2 separate regions of the Homo sapiens genome follow, and region 2 is linked to region 1. Evidence: promoter capture Hi-C in 16 types of primary human blood cells and fetal thymus (Javierre and others, 2016). All regions are on one chromosome and are shown on one strand. Each heading gives the region's core, a stretch centred on a gene start or on the middle of the fragment in contact. The rest is flanking DNA. Distances are from core to core; before and after follow the strand shown.

Evidence for each region. The method cuts DNA at HindIII sites, captures the fragments that hold promoters and counts their contacts. A CHiCAGO score of 5 or more calls a contact.
Region 2: a contact is called between a fragment that was not itself captured here and the fragment with the promoter of GBP5 in region 1, in 8 of 17 cell types (total CD8 T cells, activated CD4 T cells, naive CD8 T cells and 5 more). The highest score is 15.5, in total CD8 T cells.

Annotation. Positions count from the first base shown.
Region 1 is chr1:89,270,537-89,276,860 of GRCh38, forward strand. GBP5 (guanylate binding protein 5) reads right to left here and starts at 2,324. Exons shown (of 12, transcript NM_052942.5): 1 at 1,916-2,324; 2 at 219-326. It also overlaps the pseudogene LOC100421401. The HindIII fragment of the contact is 6,725 bases long and covers 1-5,663 here.
Region 2 is chr1:89,139,840-89,146,163 of GRCh38, forward strand. It overlaps GBP7 (guanylate binding protein 7), which reads right to left. Exons shown (of 11, transcript NM_207398.3): 9 at 1,707-1,809. The region is part of intron 1 of LOC105378842 (a long non-coding RNA gene); the gene reads left to right. Among named protein-coding and RNA genes, the nearest start is that of GBP2, 17 kb to the left of the region's middle. The HindIII fragment of the contact is 1,570 bases long and covers 2,227-3,796 here.

The DNA.
Region 1 (6,324 bases), core at 1,074-3,573:
ATGCCCTGGAAATCATTATGTTGACATAAATTAAAACAGAAACTGCTTGGCAGCAGAAAATAGGATATCCATTTGCAAATGGTGTAGCACTAGGACATGGGAGTCAGGAAATGCCTAGTGCAAGCCTGACCCAGAAAGAGGCAATTTTGCAACAAATTTAGAGACTCAAATGGCAGGTCTCTTCTCATTCTAATCTATTTTCAATGTAGTATTAGTACCTTATATATGTAGAATTCTGGTTGCCTGATTTGTATGCAGCGGAGGCCAGAATAATTTTTCCACTAGAAAGATATGGGCACCTTGAAGTGATGATCTACAACAATTAGCTAGAAAAACAAAAGATACATAAGCCAAATCTATAAGCAGATATTGAGAGCTTACAAGATCTTATGATTTGGGATGATGTCACTAAGGAAGAGGGAATGAATGTGTCTGAGTGTTCAGACTCTCTTATGAATGACAATAGCATTGTATATCTACATTAATAATAGTATTTGACATGTTGTCCCCAATGTCATCTGGATAGCATCTTTAATGCTTTTAGTAAAGCCAAATTTCTAAAACATTATTGCAGATTTAATGTGTTCAAGCCACAAACATAACTGTTGCTCTGTTATTCATAACTTAGTGTTCTGGGATGCATTCTCCCTAACTGCTTGAGCCCTATAACCTTTGCAAATAAAAACAATGCAAGAATGGTTCAAAATACACACACAAAATGCACATTTTGCCCTTGCCTTAAATTAGACTTGATTTCCAACCCCAGCCCTACAACTGGCTATCTGTATCTCTCTGGCATTTCACTCAATTCTTTCAGCTTGTTTTCTAAAAAAGCAAAAGTAAATAAACAACTATTTATTAACATCAGTATAACTGCTGGCTTATGAAAGAGAGTGAGCGAGCTGCAGGAGATTTTAAAAAGTGCAAAGAAGGAAAATGCCCAAAAAAAAATACTAAGAGAAAATGCTCAGAAGTGGTAGTGGAAGGATTTCTGAAAGAAAACATCTGTTTTCAGCCATATGATTCTAGTTTGGGTTTTGCGCCTGCATTTGTATATGTAGTTGTTATTGCTTGCTTTTGCTTATTTTGCATAGTTTCTGGTTTGAATTTCAAGGAAAAGGAAAAGGCTCTTATTAAGGATATAAATGGAAATCAAACTAGTACAAAATGCTTGAAGTATGTGTCATGGTAAGAAATTCAAAGGAGAGAATTTCAACGAGTGAACAGTTGCCAGACAGTATTGAGGGATCCAGTTGGGCAACTGTTAAATTAGGTGATTCATAATAGTAAAGGCAATAGAGTAGTAGAAGCAGAACCCAACACAAAAGGGGTTAGTTAAGTGAGTAGATGCCAAGAAACCAACATGAATTAAGTCAGGGCTATTGCTAAAGGAAGAAATCTACTTTCAAACAAAGTACAAGACTATGACTAAAAATACATCACTGTTTTCATGAAACTTCTCTCTGGGCAACATTTTTTTCTTGTCCTTAATGTTTGCAAGCTACTTACATTGCATCATATTCATTGTTCTTTCTCATGAAAATAATAGCTATCATAGTTTTTGAAACTTTCATGCTGAAGTTCGAGTCAGTTTAATCAGATTTTATGAAGGACGAAGGTAACTTAAGTGGAAATTATGATCCTGAATAAGTCATAAAATTGCAAAGGAAGAAAAATAATTTGAAGGCATTTCAAACTCTTAGTTTAGTCACCACACACATTGATGTCTAATTCAGCAAGAGGCAGACACAGCTGGTACTTGATGAATTCTGCTGCCTGTCTGATAAGAATACAATTTATTCTTTACTGAGGTCTGATATACCACATCAGGATAAGCTGCATCCTATCCTTTGTAGAATGTTTCTAAAACCAAATGAATCTTGCAAATCTCTTCCACCTCTTGCCCCAGTCTTACCGTGTCCGGAATTGGTGGGTTCTTGGTCTCACTGACTTCAAGAATGAAGCCGCGGACCCTAGCGTTGAGTGTCACGGTTCTTAAAGGTGGCGTGTCAGGAGTTTGCTCCTTCTGATGTTCGGATGTGTTTGGAGTTTCTTCCTTCTGGTGGGTTCGTGGTCTGGCTGGCTCAGGAGTGAAGCTGCAGACCTTCGCGGTGAGTGTTACAGCTCTTAAGGCTGCGCGTCTGGAGTTGTTTGTTCCTCCTGGTGGGTTCGTGGTCTCGCTGGCTTCAGGAGTGAAGCTGCAGACATTCCCAGTGAGTGTTACAGCTCATAAAGGCAGTGTGGACCCAAAGAGTGAGCAGCAGCAAGATTTATTGCAAAGAGTGAAAGAACAAAGGTTCCACAGCCTGGAGGGTGACCTCAGTGGGTTGCCACTGCTGGCTACTTCTCTTATCTGGCCCCACCCACATCCTGCTGATGGGTCCATTTTACAGAGAGCCGATTGGTCCATTTTACAGAGAGCTGATTGGTCTGTTTTGACAGGGTGCTGATTGGTGTGTTTACAATCCCTGAGCTGGACACAAAAGTTCTTCATGTCCCCACTAGATTAGCTAGATACAGAGTGTGGATTGGCCTATTTACAAACCTTGAGCTAGATACAGAGTGCTGATTGGTGCATTTACAAACCTTGAGGTAGATACAGAGTGCTGATTGGTGCATTTACAATCCCTTAGCTAGACATAAAGATTCTCCAAGTCCCCACCAGATTAAATAGATACAGAGTGCTGATTGGTGTATTTACAATCCCTTAGCTAGACATAAAGATTCTCCAAGTTCCCACTAGACTCAAGAGCCCAGCTGGCTTCACCCAGTGGATCTTGCACCGGGCGGCAGGTGGAGCTGCCTGCCAGTCCTGCTCCATGCACTGGCACTCCTCGGTCCTTGGGCCATGGATGGGACAGGGTGCTGTGGAGCAGGGGTCAGCACAGGTTGGGGAGGCTCAGGCAGCACAGGAACCCATGGCGGGGTGAGGTGGGGAGCGGGAGAGGGGAGGAGGCTCAGGCATGGCAGGCTGCAGGTCCCCAGCCCTGCCCCACCGGGAGGCAGCTAAGGCCCTGCAAGAAGTGGAGCACAGCAGCTGCTGGCCCAGGTGCTAAGCCCCTCACTGCCTGGGGCCGCTCCGAGTGCAGGTCCCTCAGAGCCCAAGCCCACCCAGAACTCGCGCTGGCCCTCAAGCACCGGGCGCAGCCCCAGTTCCCACCCCTGCCTCTCCCTCCACACCTCCCAGCAAGCTGAGGGAGCCAGCTCCGGCCTCGGCCAGCCCAGGAAGGGGCTCCCACAGTGCAGCGGAGGGCTGAAGGGCTCCTCAAGTGCCGCCAGAGTGGGTGCCCAGGCAGAGGAGGCACCGAGAGCGAGGGAGGGCTGCAAGGGCTGCCAGCACGCCGTCACCTCTCATTACCTTGATTATAAAATCGGGAGAAGAGGTATTTTAGAGCTAGTAAGAAAACTGCTTCCATGAGGGACTGGGCACGGTGGCTCACGCCTGTAATCCCAGCATGTTGGGTGGCCGAGGCGGGTGGATGACGAGGTCAGGAGATCTAGACCATCCTGGCTAACACGATGAAACCCCGTCTCTACTAAAAATATACAAAAAATTACCTGGGCATGGTGGCGGGCGCCTGTGGTCCCAGCTACTCGGGAGGCTGAGGCAGGAGAATGGCTTGAACCTGGGAGGCGGAGCTTGCAGTGAGCCGAGACTGCACCACTGCACTTCAGCCTGGGTGACAGAGCGAGACTCTGTCTCAAAAAAAAAAAAAAAAAGAAAAGAAAAGAAAAAAGAAAGCTGCTTCGATGAGAACTTGCTGAGTTCGAACTCTCGTCTTTTACTTTCACTGTGGTGATTTCTCATTTATTTTCTTCACTCAGTCCTGGGGTTTTTGTTCTTCCCACCCCATTTTCCCTGCTCGAAAAAGGAGACAATTTGAATACAAAATATGGAATAACAGAAAGGGGGATTTTTGAAAGTTCTCTGTAGGAAATAGAAACCAAAAAGGAAATTCAGTGACTAAGCCAGATGACAAAGGGAATTGCCCAACTGTTACCTAGTGTAGATAGGCTGGATGTATTTGACCTGACTTCTTTGAAACTGCATGTTTCCTAGAAACTGCAGAGAATCCTTTCAGTGCCAGCCATACTCCTCCCTGCTTCCATTGTTGTTGTTACTAGAAGAGAAATTTGAGATCTTTCACAGTTGTTCAAAGTATGTGGTATTTCAAACCTAGCTTGAAATACGTTGACATTCATCTCCAGTTTGGGAGTAGGCCAGGGGAAGAGCTCATATGATTTTTGAGGTCTATTGTTGTGAAATGTTAGAGCTGCTCACACAGGACTAAGTTTATTACTTTCGCAGTAGGTTCAGTAGCTGAGAACTTTAACTCACAGGCAAGGACAAAGTTTTTGGCACTTAGTACATGATGAATGATAACAAGGATATTATTTATTAGACATTTGTAATGCCCTGGACAGGTTTCACTACTTTGTGTGGATTATTCTATTTTAATTCTCCCAACAAATGCTTTCTCCCAATTTTACAAAAGCTAAGACACAGGGAGATTTAGTAACTTGCCCAAAATCACAGAGCTACTAATAAATGGATCTTAAGACTGAAACCCAAGCACTTTATTGTAGTCCTTTTGTGTTTGTTGAGTGAATCATCATAATAATCATCATTATTATTGTCCCTTTTTAATAAATGGATTCTAAGATCTGGACACTAAATATCTCATATTATCCTGGTTTCAATCCTACAAGACAATTTTTTTTCTATCTTTATTTTACAATGAACAGAGTGGCTGTTAGGCAGTATTTTTGGAGCTTTAGTTCCTAGACAAGGATTTGTGAGCAAGGGATATTTATTTTGAAGGTGCTCATAAGAAACGGGGTAGGACAGTGGGAAAGTGAAAACTGGAACGGAATGAAGCCAGTGACTGGGAACATATCTAGCAGGTTTTGTTGTGGGAACCAGGAGTTAGATCTCCTCAGGTAACTCTAGGAAACAATGTAAAATCTGCCTCCAATTTCCCTCTTGGGTGGGTTAGAAACCTGGGGTACTTTTCTTCCAACTTCCTTTCATTTCTGGATAAAGACTGGTCCTGAAAGCATAACCCCCTTGCACTCCTGACCTGGCCCACGTGTGGGCTGAGAAAAAATGCTTAGATGAAGGATCTCTGATGTTTGCAGTGAGATGCCATTGGAATGTGCAAGGTTGAGTGATAAAGGGAGATGGCCTTCACAGATGTTGTGGGTATCCCATCCATATTGCCCCTATCTTATGCAAAGATCAACCTTTCCTTAATGGCTTCTTCAATTTTGTGGCTGGTCGTTAGTTTAAATATATATATATACACACACACACACACACACACAATAGGAAAGTCTAAGCTATAGTCCTCTTTGCTGCAACTGATTTTGTGATCCTAACTGATATTCAAGATCTTCTCCTCTATTACCCATTCTAGGTTTTGCTCATACTTGATCAGGAGTTCTCCTTGTCTAGGTTGCCTTCTCAGTGGAGAGAAACATTTCTTCATTTCTGAGAAACCAGAAGACCTATTTCTGTGCTTTAATAAGGCTGTAGTTACTTCCAGTGCATCTTAACAGGCCATGCAAGCACCAAGAGTATCCCAGGGAATCCTTTGAGTGCCAGCCATACTCCTCCCTGCTTCCATTATGTACTATTTCCTCACAGAAACCATAATCATTTAAGCTTGCCAGTAGATCAATCCTTTTAATTGCCTGCTGGCTTGTCTACAAACATGAAATTCATAAAATGACCAGGTGGCAGCTATAGTTTCAGATTTAGTAGAACTTTACTATGACCCCTGGTAGAAAAACTGCTTAACTTCACCCTGAGAACTGGCCCTCTAGTCCAGCAGACTAGACAATGGATCACAAATTCACAAATAATTCAACGGAGAATACTCCTACTTTAACGCTTTGGTTCCCAGGCTCATATATTCCAGCTAGCATATAATATCCTTTAGTTATCCAATTATATACTGCATATTGAATGACAGTCCCCAACCCCACAATGGTCTCTACTGGCCATTCCAGTTTTGTTAGGCTGGCAGCTTTTAGATGATGTATAAGGACTAGTGGATTCCATGGTTACATTCGCATTGTTGTGCCTCTTTACTGTAAAGTAAAACTTTCAAAACTTTCTCTAAGCTGATGTTTAGTAGGATTTTAGGACATTTAAACAGACACTGCAAGTCCTCGAATAGGTGCTGGCTGAACCACTCTCAACAGGGGAATATCCATACCCAGAATTTATGTCAATTTCAGTAAAAAAAAAAAAAAATCACAGACTCCTCCAAGGTGCAAAAGGACTGATTTGATCACCTTGACATCTAGTGGTCTGGTTGG
Region 2 (6,324 bases), core at 1,762-4,261, 130 kb before region 1:
GGTGGGACTGTAAACTAGTTCAACCATTGTGGAAGTCAGTGTGGCGATTCCTCAGAGATCTAGAACTAGAAATACCATTTGACCCAGCCATCCCATTACTGGGTATATACCCAAAGGATTATAAATCATGCTGCTATAAAGACACATGGACACATATGTTTATTGCGGCACTATTCACAATAGCAAAGACTTGGAACCAACCCAAATGTCCAACAACGATAGACTGGATTGAGAAGATGTGGCACATATACACCATGGAATACTATGCAGCCATAAAAAATGAAGAGTCATGTCCTTTATAGGGACATGGATGAAACTGGAAACCATCATTCTCAGCAAACTATCGCAAGGACAAAAACCAAACACCACATGTTCTCACTCATAGGTGGGAATTGAACAATAAGAACACATGGACACAGGAACAGGAACATCACACTCCGGGGACTGTTGTGGGGTGGGGGGAGGGGGGAGGGATAGCATTAGGAGATATACCTAATGCTAAATGATGAGTTAATGGGTGCAGAACACCAACATGGCACATGTATACATATGTAACAAACCTGCACATTGTGCACATGCACCCTAAAACTTAAAGTATAATAATAATAATAAAAAAAACTGAAAAAAAAAAGAAAAATGCAGGTAGAAAGCACATGAGATATCATCTCATACCAGTCAGAATGGCTGTTACTAAAAAGTAAAAAAATAACAGATGCTGGCAAGGTTGCCAAGAAAAGGGAATTCTTAAACACTGCTGGTGGGCTTGTAAATTAGTTCAGCCACTGTGGAAAGCAGTTTGGAGAGTTCTCAAAGAACTTAAAACAGAACTATCATTTGACCCACCAATCCCATTACTGCTTATATACCCAAAGGAAAATAAATCATTCTACCATAAAGACACATGAATGTGCATGTTCATCGGTGCACTATTTCCAATACCAAAGACATGGAATCAACCTAAATGTTCATCAGTGGTGGACTGGATAATGAAAATGTTGTACATATATGCCTTAGAATACTACACAGCCATAAAATGAATGAAATAATGTTCTTTGCAGCACTGTGGATGCAGCTGGAGGTCAATATTCTAAGGGAATTAATGCAGGACTAGAAAACCAAATATCACATGTTCTTACTTATGAGTGGGAACTAAATATTGAGTACACATGGACACAAAGGGACCAATAGACACCAGGACCTACTTGAGGGTGGAGGATGGGAAGAGGGTAAAGATTGAAAAACTACCTATTGGGTACTATGCTCATTATCTGGGTGATGAAATAATCTGTACAACAAATTCCCATGACACAATTTACCCATGTAACAAACCTATTTGTGTACCCTCTGGACCTAAAATAAAAGTTGGAAAGAAAAAAAAAAAAAGAAAGTAACAGTCTTGTCTGAGTTCTACTCTCCTGAGTTCAGAGGCCAAAATGACTTTGAAAAAAGCACCAAGGTGGGGAATTGAGAATCTCTGAATTCTGTCACTAGCCATGTCAGCAAGAGCATGTTTAAGAATGTTGTGGGAAGAAACTAAGTGGCTGGATGTTCAATCCCAACTCCCCTTGTTATTTTCAGTTTTAGCAGAGCATGTGTTCCCTATGAGAAGAAAGCTCCTGGTATAAGGAAAATCCTTTTTTCTGAACATCAAGAGAGTGTTGCAAGAACCTACCCATTTGCCTGAGAGCTGAGCCCTGCCCCTGTACCTGCTATGGCCTTCTCTCCAGCAGTGAGGGCTTTGTCTGACTGCAGGATGGATTCCTCTATAACCACCTGTGACTGCAGGAAGCTCTGGAGGACCTCGTCTGCCTGAAGAACCAAGAAGGAGCAAAGACCTGTCAGGCAGCAGAAATCTTGTCTTGTGATGAGGAAATTATTGTTCAACAAAGCCACAAATCTAACCTTGTAAACTTCACATTATTCTTAAGATTCCACAGTGGTTTCTTTCCTTCCACAGCCACAATAAAAAGTCCAAGCTCTTTGTTGAGACATGAAAACCCTGTGTAGCAGCCTCCCTCCTGCCTGTCCAGCCTCTTCTCCCAGGGATGCTGCTCACCACCCACCCCCGGTGCAGACAACCAGATTTCTATGCAGTTCTACAAACACACATCCTCCATAGTTTGCATTATTTGCTTTCTTTTTTCTTTTGCCTGAAGGCCTGCCTACCCTTTTCAAATTAGGATAACATCTATTGATACTTTACCTAATAGCTCTTACCTCACTGGAAGCTTTTCTAGGCTAATTATTTATTTATTTATTTACTTTTGATCACTGTTAAGAATGTTGATAATAGTTCATTAAAAGTAAACAATGTATTCAAATTTAATTTAAAAAGTTAAAACCTTAAAAAGACCGAACAGGTAACTGTTTAGTCTATTTAGGAGTAGTGGTGAATATAATGGAAAATTGAACAGTTGAGAAACTTTTTTTTCTCTTTTGAGACAGTCTCACTCTGTCACCCAAGCACAAGTTCAATGGTATTATCACTTCAACCTTGAACTCCCGGGCTGAATGCTGCTGCCTCAGCCTCCTGCATAGCCAGGACTACAGATGTGTGCCACCGCAGCTGGCTAATTTTATTTTTTACTTTTGTAGAGATGGAAGTCCTGTCATGTTGCTCAGGATGGTTTCAATCTCCTGGTCTTAAGCAATCCTCCTACCTTGGCCTTCCAAAGCGTTGGGATTATAGGTGTGAGCCACTGTACCTGGCCTGAGAAACTTTAAGAATTTGAAACTTTAAGGGAGTAACATGGCTGTCCAAAATGGGAAATTACCAATCAAGGAAAATACAACACTGCATAGACTTAACAGTCACACATGGGAAGGAAAAAGAGGCATAAATACCTCAGCCAATAAGTGATTAGTGACTGAAATTTGGGTGTGTGGGGCACATCACAGAAGGAAGGACCTAGGCATTTTTTGACGGTTATTTTCCTTGTTCCCTTCTTTCAAAAAAAATTTAGATTCATGGGTGTATTAGGACATTCTTGCATTGCTACAAATACCTGAGACTGGGTAATTTTTTTTCTTATTGTGTGATTGTAGCTTATTCACTTTCATTGTGATATAGTACGCCATTATGTGAATACACTAGTTTACTTGTTCTATTGTTGATGGACATTAGGGTAAAATTTCAGTTTGGTGCTATTGTGAATGATACTGTTGTGACCATTTCTGTCCCAGTCTTTTAAGTGAATGTATATATCTAGGAATGGATTTGCTGGGTCATTTGGTATTTGTTTTTCAATTTTAGCAATTAAAACCAAACAGTTTTCCAAATTGATGTTCTGATTTATACCTCATTAGCAATGTGTGAGAATTCCAGTTGCTTCATATTCTTGTCAACACTTGGAATTTTGATTTCTTAAACAGTCACCTTCTTTTCATTTTGTGAGGAAATTGAAACTCAGATAAGTGAAATTACCTGACCTGTACTAGGCTTTGTTCTGAGAATGCAAAGGACCTTGCAGTTCAGAATTAAGCACTTTTTTCTGTTTAACTGGTAGTGACTTATGAAGTAAAAAATCATACTCAGATTTGATATATGTATCTTTCCAAGGAGGATTACAAGTAGCTATTTATTTTTATCTGATCTGAATTTAAAATAGTTTTTTGGACACTACTGTTTTAGGGTGAGTGAGCAATAATGATTTAGGTATAGAGTTAGGATCTACATTTAATTTTTTTTATTTAACTTTTATTTTAAGTTCGGGGTAATTTATAAAGCAAAGAGGTTTAATGGGCTCATAGTTCTGCAGGCTTTACAGGAAACATGCCTTCTGGTAAGGCTTCAGGAAGCTTTTACTCCTGGTGGAATGTGAAGCAGGAGCTTGCATGTCACATGACAAAAGCAGGAGCAAGAGAGAGTGAGAGAGAGTGGAGGTGCCACATACTTTTAAATGACCAGACCTCCAGAGAACTCACTATCACACAGACAGCAGCAAGCCATAAAGGATCTTCCCCCATGATCCAAACACCTCCCACGAGGCCCCACCTCCAGCACTGGGGATTACAATTCAATATGAGGTTTGAGTGGAGACAAATAGCCCAACTTGATCAATGGGGTTCGCATGCAGGTTTGTTACATGACTATATTGCGTGATACTGAGGTTTGGGCTTCAGTCAAAACAGTCACCCAGATAGTGAATGTAGAACCCCAAAGGTCGTTTTTCAACCCTACTTCCCTCCCTGCCTCCTCCCTCTTGTATTCCCCAGTGTATATTGTTCCCGTCTTTATGTACATGTGTATTCATTGTTTAGCTCCCACTTACAAGTGAGAACATGGAGTATTTGGTTTTCCGTTTCTGCATTAATTCACTTAGGATAATGGCCTCCAGATGCATCCATTTTTCTGCAAACGACATGATTTCATTCTTTTTATGGCTGCATAGTGTCTCAAGGTGTATATGCACCACATTGTAAAAATCCAGTCTACTATTGATGGGCGCATAGGTTGATTCTGTGTCTTTGCTATTGTGAATAGTGCTGTGATAAACATATGAGTGTGGGTGTCTTTTTGGTAGAATGTTTTATTTTCCTTTGGGTGTATACCTAGTAATGGGATTGCTGGGTTGAATAATAATAATAATTCTATTTTTAGTTCTTTAAGAAATCTCCAAACTGCTTCCCACAGAGGAATTTACAATTTGCAATCCCACTAGCAGTGTATAAGCGTTCCCTTTTCTCTACAACCTCACCAGTATGTGCTATTTTTCCCTTTTTAATAATATAGGCTAATTTCTAATTTTGTTTTACAAGTTTTTTGAAGTTGATTGATAAGTAAAAATTATGTTTAAGAGGAACAGCATGATATTTTGATACATGTATACATTGTGAAATGATTATTATAATCAAGCTAATATATCTGCACCTCATGCAGTTATCTTTTTTTTGTGTGTGTGTGGTGGGAACACAAGGGACCTACTCTCTTAGCAAATTTCTAGTATAAAGTACATTGTTTTAACTATAGTCACCATGCTATACACTAGGCATCCAGAACTTACTCATCTTATAACTGAATGTTTGTACCTACTGATCACTATTTCCCCTTTCCTCCTACCCCTCTCTGTCTGGTAACCACCCATTCTACTCTCTGTTAATGTGACTTTCACTCTTTTTTTTTTTTTTTTTTTGAGACGGAGTCTCGCTCTGTCACCAAGGTGGAGTGCAGTGGTGCGATCTCGGTTCACTGCAACCTCTGCCTCCCAGGTTCAAGTAATTCTCCTGCCTCAGCCTCCAGAGTAGCTGGGACTACAGGCATGCACCACCATGCCAGGCTAATTTTTGTATTTTTAGTAGAGACAGGGTTTCACCATGTTGGCCAGGATGGACTTGATCTCCTGACCTTGTGATCCACCTGCCTCAGCCTCCCAAAGTGCTGGGATTAGAGGTGTGAGCCACTGTGCCTAGCTGACTTTCGCTCTTTTTAAATAATTTCACATAAAGGTGCGTCATGCAGTATTTGTCTTTCTAAGAATGGCTGATTTCACTAAGCATAATGTCCTCCAGGTTCATTCATGTTGTCGCCAGTGGTAGGATTTCTTTCTTTTTAGGATTCAATAATACTTTATTTTATATATCTATATTTACATATAGATATGCATATATATCACATTTTCTTCACTTGCTCATTTGTGGATGGACACAGGTTGTTTTCATGTCTTGGCTATTGCAAATTATGCTGCAATGAACATGGGAGTGAAAATATCTCTTTGAGATAGTGACTTTAGTTCCTTTGGAAATACAACCAGAAGTCCACCAATAGCTGTTAAACTAATAAATTCAGCAAAGTTGGAGGATACAAAATTAGCATACAAATTCAGCTACATTTCTATGCACTAAGAACAAACTATATGAAAAAATAAGAAAATCACATTTATAATAGCATCAAAATTATAAAATGCTTAGAAATAAATGTAACCAAAGAGGTAAAAGATTTGTACTCTGTCAATCATAAAATGCTGATGAAATTAACTGAAGAAGACATAAAATAAATGGAGAGATATTCCATGTACATTGACTGGAAAAATTAATATTGTTAAAATGTTCATACTATCTAAAAAAAATCTACAGGTTTACACAATTTCTATCAAAATTCCAATGGTGTTTTTTCACAGCAGTAAGAAAACCAATTATAAAATTCATATGGAACCATAAAAGACCCCAAATAGCCAAAACAAGAAAAACAGAGCCAAAGGCATCATACTATCTGACTTCAAAATCTACTACAAAGGTATCAAGTAGTGTAATGCTGGCATAAAGAGACATCTAACTGCATGGAACAGAATAGAGAGCCAGGAAACAAACCCACACATTTACAGTCAA